Linked DNA regions of Homo sapiens: all the other regions are linked to region 1. The links are contacts of gene promoters, found by promoter capture Hi-C in blood cells and fetal thymus (Javierre and others, 2016). All regions are on one chromosome and are shown on one strand. The core of a region is centred on a gene start or on the middle of the fragment in contact, and the rest is flanking DNA. Distances in the headings are between cores, read along the strand shown.

Region 1 (2,960 bases), core at 199-2,698:
CCCAGGCTGGAGTGCAGTGGCACCATCACAGCTTGACCTCCCTGGCTCAAGGTATCCTCCCACCTCAGTCTCCCAAGTAGCTGAGACTACATATACACACCACTACACCTGGCTAGTTTTATTTTATTTTATTTATTTTTATTTTTATGGAGACAGGGCCACCATGCCTGGCTACTTTAATTTTTTTTTTTTTTTTTTTTTTTTGGTAGATACAGGGTCTCACTCTGTTGCTCAGGCTGGTCTCCAGCTCCTGGGCTCAAGTGATCCTACCATCTTGGCCTCTCAAAGTGCTGGGATTACAGGTGTGAGATCTTGATTTTTACTTATGAACACATGCAAGCACTCTGTATGTGTTGGGTGGTGTACACTCTCGGGACAGGGAAGTTAGAGTTTCAATTGTGGCCATGGCTTCTTTACTCTTTCTGTGATCTTGAGCAGTCCCACAACTCTTAGAACTTAATTCATTATAGAAGTGTTGGAGAATTTCTGTGAGATAATCAGGCATAAATTTTTAAAGCATTAATATTGCTGAGATGTCCAAATGACTACATAAATTATGATCCACCTACACGCTAAACTGCTATGTAGCCATTAAAAAGAATGACGCTGCTCTAAATATACTAATATGAAACAGTTTCCAAGATATCCTGAGTGAAGAAAAGACAGTATAGAACAATGTATATAGTATGCTACCATTTTTGTATGTGTGCATGCCTTCACATATGTGTGCTTTTAAGGGATATAGGCATATTTAAGCTCGTAAATTCATAGACCATCTTTGTAAAGGTACACAAAGAACTGGCAATAGTGGTTGCCTTCAGAGAAGAGAACTTGAAGAGAACCTCCCTACTGGAGGCAGGGATGGTGGAAGGGGTGGGGGATGGAGAGAGTGGAGATTGAGCTTTTGAATTCTGTTCCATGTGCATATATTATAAATTCAAAAAAAGATATAGTTTATTTTTTAAGAACCTGGAATTAAGTCCTATCTATGAAAGCTGAAGAGATCAAAGTGAGAGGTAATTTAATTTGAAGCCCAGGTACAGCAGAAGTTTGGGGCTTCTGTGTTACTCATGCTTATCCACACCTTTATTTTTTCTTTTTCTAAAGCATCTGGGTCTTTAGTTCAAATATTTGCAGATCCATGGTTTACTGGGTAGAATTTTTGTTGTGGCATACATCAACATATTCCAAGTTTCTCTGCTTGGATGGAATAGATGCATGAAATTCTGTGAAATGATTAAGCTGTGAAAAGTAGAAGGACTTTGAATAGGCATTATTTTTCAAGATCTTAGAAATAGTTATGCCTGATAGTTTTATAATGTCTGTAGCGTATTTTGCAGTCCACAGAACGCACTCACATACATTATCAGCTGATCCGTCGCAAAGAAGCCTCATGTGATTCTTTCTATTCTCAGCTTTGTCCATGAACTAAAATTAGAACTAGGCTGACATTACATTTCACTTGGTTACAGCTGACTGGGGATTTTAATCATTTGGAGCCACACTGAAAAAAAAATTTCCCCCTGCAATCTACTCTTAACTGATAGTCGCTAACTTTGGTTATGTGTGGTAAGTATTTGACAATGGTAAGTATTTTTCAAAAACATTTTTCCTTTCTTCTTCACATGTAAATAGATTGCTGCTGATACCTATACTGTGTCTGTATTGGTTGGAATGTCCAAACAAACTGGAATAGAATTTAAAAGTTTTTTTGCGGGGTGTTCATGGTCACTCATATAATTGTGCTCCTCTGGAAGATAGATTTCCCCAGAAGTAAGAAACAATTCTTCTGCAATTCTTTTCTATGCTTACCTCACTTGTCACATTATGTGCTTTTTTTCTATTATGGTACTAATCAGAGTAGAGAGCAGTCCTGTGCTGGAGGAAGAAATATATCATTATTGACTTGTGTTTCCCTAGGGGAAGTTGGTTGTTATAGGAAAACTGATGGATGAGCAACATTTAATGGCAAATGAGGAAATGAATTAGCAAATGGATGAATTGTTTTACATGTCTTCTAAAATACATGTATACATGTAGATACTTGGGAATTCAAAAATATTTTTATTCGAGTATTTAGCAAAAACTTCAAACTTTCTTAAATTAGAGACAATAAATTGTAAATTGGTTGCAATATGCTCAGGAAGTTGGATTACCAGTGTATGTATCCCAAGGTTTCTTCACAGCAAAGAGATCTCGCATTCTGTTCCTGAGTAAATTCGGCATGCCTTGCTTAGAGATTCTCTCAACAATTTCCTGCCTATGCCAATTATTTATCAATCTTGAAATTTTAAACTTTTTTCTGTAATATAGTTCTCCTCTTTCTTTGACTGTCTCACACACATATATACTGCATAATATTAGTTTAAAAAATCAATAATTTAGAAGAGGTTAATAATGAAAAGCAATATTATCTATCCGATTCCTCTCTATCACCAGTCCTGCTCCCTAGAAGTAATCATTTTAACCATTTTGGAATTTAGTTTTCAGTGGTTATCTCCATATTTCTCTCTTTTTTTTCTTTTTCAAAGACAATTGCATGCTATTTTTAATCAACTTTAAACATCTGTGGAGCTTCATTATGAGAGGTGGGGATTAAGTTCCCTTACACTGCCATAGAGTTATATCCCTATTTTTAGCTTCTCTCTTGATTACCTTAATAACTTTAAGCAAATACTTTAATCTTTATTTCTTGTTCCATAAGGTACAGACAGTATCTGTTGATTCCCCACTTCGAAGATGTGGATATCGGTGTTCTTATCATTTACTTCTTTTCCTTATTTCCTTCTTCCATATTCTGTTAAAAGTACTGTCACTTTTATGTTTTCAAGATATATGGCATTTATATTCTGTTCTGTAACCCTCAATAAGTCTTCCTTACTTTTTTATAGATTGATTTATTTCAAAAGTTTAAGACCAATACATAGACTTTACTATGTAATTTCTGTTTTCTGCAGAGC
Region 2 (2,960 bases), core at 327-2,826, 340 kb after region 1:
TCAATTCTTTTGAGTACATGCCCAGTAGTAGAATTGCTGGATCATATAGTAATTCTATTTTTAACTTTTTGAGTAACCACCATAATGTGTTCAACAGTGGCTGTAACATTTTATCTTCCCATCAACAGTGCACAAAGATTTCAGTTTCTCCACATCCTTACCAACACTTATTTTCTATTTTTTGTTTTTTTTATAGTAGCCATCCTGGTAGATGTGAGATGGTATCTCAATGTGTTTTTGATTTTCATTTCCCTAATGGGTAGTGATGTTGAACATTTTTTTATGTGCTTACTGGCCATTTGTAAATCTTTTGGAGACATGTCTATTTAAGTCCTCTGCCTACTTTTGAATTTTTGTTGTTGTTGTTGAGTTTTAGATTAGTTCATTACATATTCTAGATATTAATCCCTTATCAGATGTATGATTTTAAAATATTTTCCCCCATTCTGTAGGCTGTCTTTTCATGCTATTGATAGTGTCCTTTGAAGCACAAAAGTTTTACATTTTAATGAAATCCAATTAATCTATTTGCTTTTTGCCTGTGTCTTTGGTGTCATATTCATTGCCAAATTCAATATCATGAAGTTTTGCCCTATATTTTCTTCTAAGAATTATATAGTTTTAGCTCTTTTGTTAGGTCTATGATTCATTTTGAATTAATTTTTGTATATGGGGTTAGGTTAACAGTCCATTTTCATTATTTTGCATGTGGCTATTCAGTTTTCCCAGCACTATTTGTTGAAAAGACTGTCCTTTCCCCACTGAATGGTCTTAGTACTGTTGTTGGAAAACATTTGACTATATATACTGGGGTTTATTTCTGGGCTCTCTATTCTATTTCATTTGTCTATCTATATATCTGTCTTTATGCCAGTACCACACTGTTTCAATTACCAAAGTTTTGTAGTAAGTTTTAAAATCAGGAAATGTGAGTCCTCCAATGTTGTTCTTCTTTTTCAAGATTGTTTTAGCTGTTCAGGGTCCCTTAAGATTCCACATGAATATTAAAACTAATTTTTCTATTTCTGTAAAAAAAAAGTCAATCTGTAGATCACTTTGGGTAGTACTGACATTTTGACAATATTAATCTTCTAATCCATGAACCATGGGATGGTTTTCCATTTATTTATGTCTTTCTTAATTTCTTTTAGCAATGTTTTATAGTTTTCAGTGTACAGGTCTCCTTTTGGTTTGTGAATTCCTAAGTTTTTAAATGCTATTTTAAATAGAATTGTTTTCTTAATTTCCTTTCAGATTACTCATTGTTAGTGTATCAAAATGCAATTGATTTCTGTGCATTGACTTTGTATCCTGCTGCTTTGCTGAATTCATTTATTCTAACTGTGTGTGTGTGTGTGTGTGTGTGTGTGTGTGTGTGTGGTATCTTAGTTTCCTACATATCACATCTGTGAACAGAGATAATTTTACTTGTTCCTTTTCAATTTGGATGAAGCTTTCATTTATTTGTCTTGATCAATTGTTCTGTCTAGGACTTTCAATATGTTGAATAGAAGTGGTGGAAGTGGTTATCCTTGCTTTGTTCCTGACCTTAGAAGAAAAGTTTTCAGTCTTTCACTGTTGAGTATGATGTTTGCTGTAGATTTTTTTACATATGGCTTTTATTAGGTTGAGGTAGTTTTCTTCTAGTTTGCTGAGTGTTTGTATCATGAAATGATGTTGAATTTTGTCAAAAGCTTTTTCTGCATCAATTGAGATGATTCTTTATTTTTTATGTTTAATTTTTTTTTTTTTTTTTTGAGACAGAGTTCTCACTCTGTTGCCCAGGCTGGAGTGCAGTGGCGTGATCTTGGCTCACTGCGACCTCTGCCTCCCGGGTTCAAGTGATTCTCCTGCCTCAGCCTCCTAAGTAGCTGGGACTACAGGTGTGTGCCACCACACCTGGCTAATTTTTGTATTTTTAGTAGAGACAGGGTTTCACCATGTTGGCCAGGTTGGTCTTGAACTCCTGACCTCAAATGATCCGCCTGCCTCGGCCTCCCAAAGTGCTGGGAATACAGGTGTGAGCTACAGTGCCTGGCCTCTTTATTTTTTAAAGAATACATATTTTCTTTTCCTTTTTGAAGTATCACAGGAAAGGGCTTGATTTTGCTATATCTTATAGCAGCATGGTAAATTTATGGTTAGCATAGTGCTAACCATGATGCATTTACTGTCTTTTCAAAAGCTTTAACTTTGGTTAGTTTTTTTTTTTTCCTCAGTTTTGAATAGGAATTGATTTGACAGCTGATTTTGTGTGTCCTTTGCCCAGCTCAGAAGGGTGGAAAACAAACCTGTCAAAACAAAGCTCTCAGAGTGGCAAAATTCCTAAGAATGCATCAGGTATCCTGACCTAACAATTAAATGTCTGTCCTACTAGAGGGTGAGCTTATTGAGAGGAGAAAATATCTTTTCTCCGGAATCCCCAGCACCTAAAACATTGCCTGTTGTATAGAAAACACTCAATAACATCTTGAGAAGGAATCCAAGAACAGTGTGTCTCTTGCCCTTTCTTCCCTGTCCTTTCCCCAAGAGAGAATACATCAAAATCAGTAACTTCCATATAGTTAATTTACTGTGAAGTATAAATATGAAAACATTCAAGTTCTACAAATAGTGCAAAAGTGAGCAGTTATGACATTTGACAAACTATTGTTGAATTGAAAGGTTTAGAGTTTGGTATTAAGAAAGGACTGTACTCTCTCATGTACTCCATGTCATAATTGATTGCTTTCTTTTTCCAAAGCTATATAGACTCATGTATTATCCACTTCTTCTTCTTTTTTTTTTTTTTGAGACGGAGTTTCGCTCTTGTTGCCCAGGCTGGAGTGCAATGGCGCGATCTTGGCTCACCGCAACTTCCGCCTCCCAGGTTCAAGCAATTCTCCTGCCTCAGCCTCCCGAGTAGCTGGGATTACAGGCATGCACCACCATGCCCGGCTAATTTTGTATTTTTAGTAGAG
Region 3 (2,960 bases), core at 159-2,658, 280 kb before region 1:
ATATAAACGTTCCCATTAGCTCTCAAGTTCTATTGCTGTTTAAAATACGTGACATGTGGGCTTTTTCTTGGACCTGGGCAATACTGAACAAAATGCAATGGAAAAGCAAACAGGGTGCAAATGAATCACATGGGGACAAGCCAACACACTGGCACCCCACTGTGGCCTGAAAGCAGCACCCACAAATGAGCCAGCAAGTGACACCTTCCTAACAGACTCCACGCCAGAGACAAGATATCCCACAAAGCCAGGGCCCATCCTGCTAGCTAATGGGGAGGGTGGGGAGGGAGAGCTCTGCCCACCCAGGAGGAGGGAGCCTGGCATGGGGAGCCCTGCTCCAAACCCAGGCCACGTGCTGCTCATTTCCATCTCTCTGGGTCTCTGGGAAACCGCAGCTTCCCATTTTTGCTCACATGTTCACAAAGTACCTCCACCTACTCAAATCTTAAACATAGAAACAAGGGCCTACAAAACGGCATTTTAATTTCTGTCAGAACCAAAGCCATACTCGTCTGAATAAGTCAGTTACAGCAGCACTAGGCACATGAAAAGAACAGCACCCTCCCCAACACCTACTAGATGATTAGCATAAAATGAGAGGGAAACCGGGTCTAGACCCAAAACCATAAGCACAGCACCACCCAGCGACACTAGGAGGAGCTGCACATGAGGAACTCGAGGCTCCAGCCCAGGGCGGCCCTAGTGATTTCTCCTCGCTGAAATCAAAGACCCAGTAAAATATCTGGAATATTTCCAGTATTATCCATACCGAAAGATCTGGAATGGAGTGGATTTTAAGCCTCCTCGAAGTCAAACAAGCTTAGAGCAAATGGCATGTCATATTTTCTGAGTAGCTGACATGGGGTTGCCAGATAAAATACAGAATGCATGTTCCCTGCAATATTTGGGACATATTTATACTTTTTGTTTTAAAAGTATTCATTGTTTATCTAACTTTCAAATTTAATTAGGCAGCCTGTATTTTTATTTGCTAAATCTGGCAATCCTAAACCTTCTATAGTCTGAACAATTCCTGCCCCAAAGTATCCACCCCCAGAGATCAGAGATTTTTGCAAAACAAACTCTTTAAGTTTATTCCATGAGGCAGCATCACATCAGCAGCATTGTAAGCTAGCGGATTGCCCCTAGCAACAGGCATGGAAGACGCTCTGCTCCATGAAGCCAAAGACTAGGAGGGGAGGGAAAAGCAGAGACTGGAATGGGGGTCCAGATAACTGGGTCATAAAACAGAACCACGACAGTGCAAGAGGATGGAGAAGAGATGGGCAATTCTGAAAAAAAACAAAGGAGAGAGGAAAACTAACAACCCTTGTCTCTTGAGAATTTTACCTGTTTAAAGGTGTTCCTGCAGCCTAAAGACACTGCTACTGTGTTTCCCCTCATTGTGGCACGTGGGCCTGGAAAGGTAAGGTCTGAAAAACTGGCATATCAAGAAAGCCACACCACCACCAATTGTCCACACCCAAGCAATCGTTTCTTTAAGAAGGGGTTATTAAAATGAGTTTGTGTCCCAGTTGTCTGAAATTTAAAACCTCATTGTTTTTCTAAGACACTAAACAGGTTTTGTTTTATGTTATTTGCTCTTCCTTGGCCCGCCCCTTCGATAAGCACAGCCACCACCACCGAGGCCTTGCACACACCTTTGCAGTGAACGGCGATGGCCCCTTCGGTGTTCTCACAGATGTTCAGGAACCTTCGCACGATGTTGTCACTGGGTGTGCTGCCATCTATGAAGAAGAGGTCATAGTGCTCGAAGCCAGCGTCTGTGAAGCGCTTTGCCTCATAAATCTTTTTGTTTAGCCTCACAACTGCAGTCACATTATGCTTTTTGAAATAAGGAAAGTAGGCTTCAGGGGCGTGAAGAGGATAACCTAAAGGAACAAAGGAGCAGTAAGCAAAAGGCATGCATTTCATCTTCCACAACCCAGAAATACAAAACTCTCAACAATGAAGTGTATAAATCTCAACAAAGCTTGGGAGGAAAGTGTGTTGTGTGAGAGAAGAGGTCACAGCAAGCTCCTACAAGCATCAATCTGCATAACTGTAAGCACCACAGGAGGTTAAAAAGAAAACTTCTGTAAGTACTGAAAATACATCATTAAAGTTCAAAATCTCAACCTCTAGATTCGAATCCTGGGAGCATACTCTTCCCACTCCCAAGACAAAAGCATTCTTGAAGTAATCAAATGTGCATAACAGACCTAGAATGGTGACTTTATTCTCTCTTGAGCTTTATTCTCTACTTGACAAACAGTTTTCAACTACAGCTGAAGCTTTTTTGCCATATGTATAGTTTTAATTTGTAGTACAATGCTCCCCAGAAGCAATTATTATTAAGCACCTACTATGTACAAGTCACAATTGCGTATCATTTCAAATTCTCAAAACCATCTCTTAAGTATGGCTAATTCCATTTAACAGATTAAGAAACTAAAAGAGGGGGTGTTGGGAGGATATTGGTCAAAGAAAACAAAATTTCAGTTAGAAAGGAGTATGTCCCAGAGATCTATTGTACAACATAGTGACTATAATAACAATGTATTATATACTTTAAAGTCATTTAGAAAGTAAAATTTAAGTCTTCTCACCACAAAAAATGATAAATATGTGAATACTTAAGTAAGACTTGACTTAACCATTCTACGATGTATACATATTTCAAAAGTTGTTGTACACCATAAATATATAATTTTTATCAATTAAAATATAAATTTTTTTAGTTAAAAATAAACAATAACTTTTGTGGACACTTCCTTTTTTTGAGGGAGGAAGATGCTCCACCTTTAAATCCCCTTTTATTTTTGAGTGGCTCCACCATCATGTGAGTATTCCTGGGAGCTACACAGTCAGCTGGGTTACAGACCTAGCCTTAGCTAATCAGCCAAGGCAACCACTGGGGGCTTTGGCCTTTGCAGGCCTTGCAATGGCAGCTCCAAAAG

Evidence for each region. The method cuts DNA at HindIII sites, captures the fragments that hold promoters and counts their contacts. A CHiCAGO score of 5 or more calls a contact.
Region 2: a contact is called between a fragment that was not itself captured here and the fragment with the promoter of LRRC39 in region 1, in 1 of 17 cell types (M1 macrophages). The highest score is 6.1, in M1 macrophages.
Region 3: a fragment that was not itself captured here is called in contact with the fragment with the promoter of LRRC39 in region 1 in 1 of 17 cell types (activated CD4 T cells); the score reaches 5.8 in activated CD4 T cells.

The regions. Positions count from the first base shown.
Region 1 is chr1:100,176,744-100,179,703 of GRCh38, reverse strand. LRRC39 (leucine rich repeat containing 39) reads left to right here and starts at 1,448. Exons shown (of 10, transcript NM_144620.4): 1 at 1,448-1,569. The HindIII fragment of the contact is 12,638 bases long and covers 1-2,960 here.
Region 2 is chr1:99,837,366-99,840,325 of GRCh38, reverse strand. No RefSeq gene overlaps it. Among named protein-coding and RNA genes, the nearest start is that of AGL, 12 kb to the left of the region's middle. The HindIII fragment of the contact is 241 bases long and covers 1,456-1,696 here.
Region 3 is chr1:100,461,583-100,464,542 of GRCh38, reverse strand. It overlaps CDC14A (cell division cycle 14A), which reads right to left. Exons shown (of 16, transcript NM_003672.4): 9 at 1,662-1,892. Among named protein-coding and RNA genes, the nearest start is that of GPR88, 75 kb to the left of the region's middle. RefSeq lists enhancers at 406-495, 1,774-2,395. The HindIII fragment of the contact is 1,174 bases long and covers 822-1,995 here.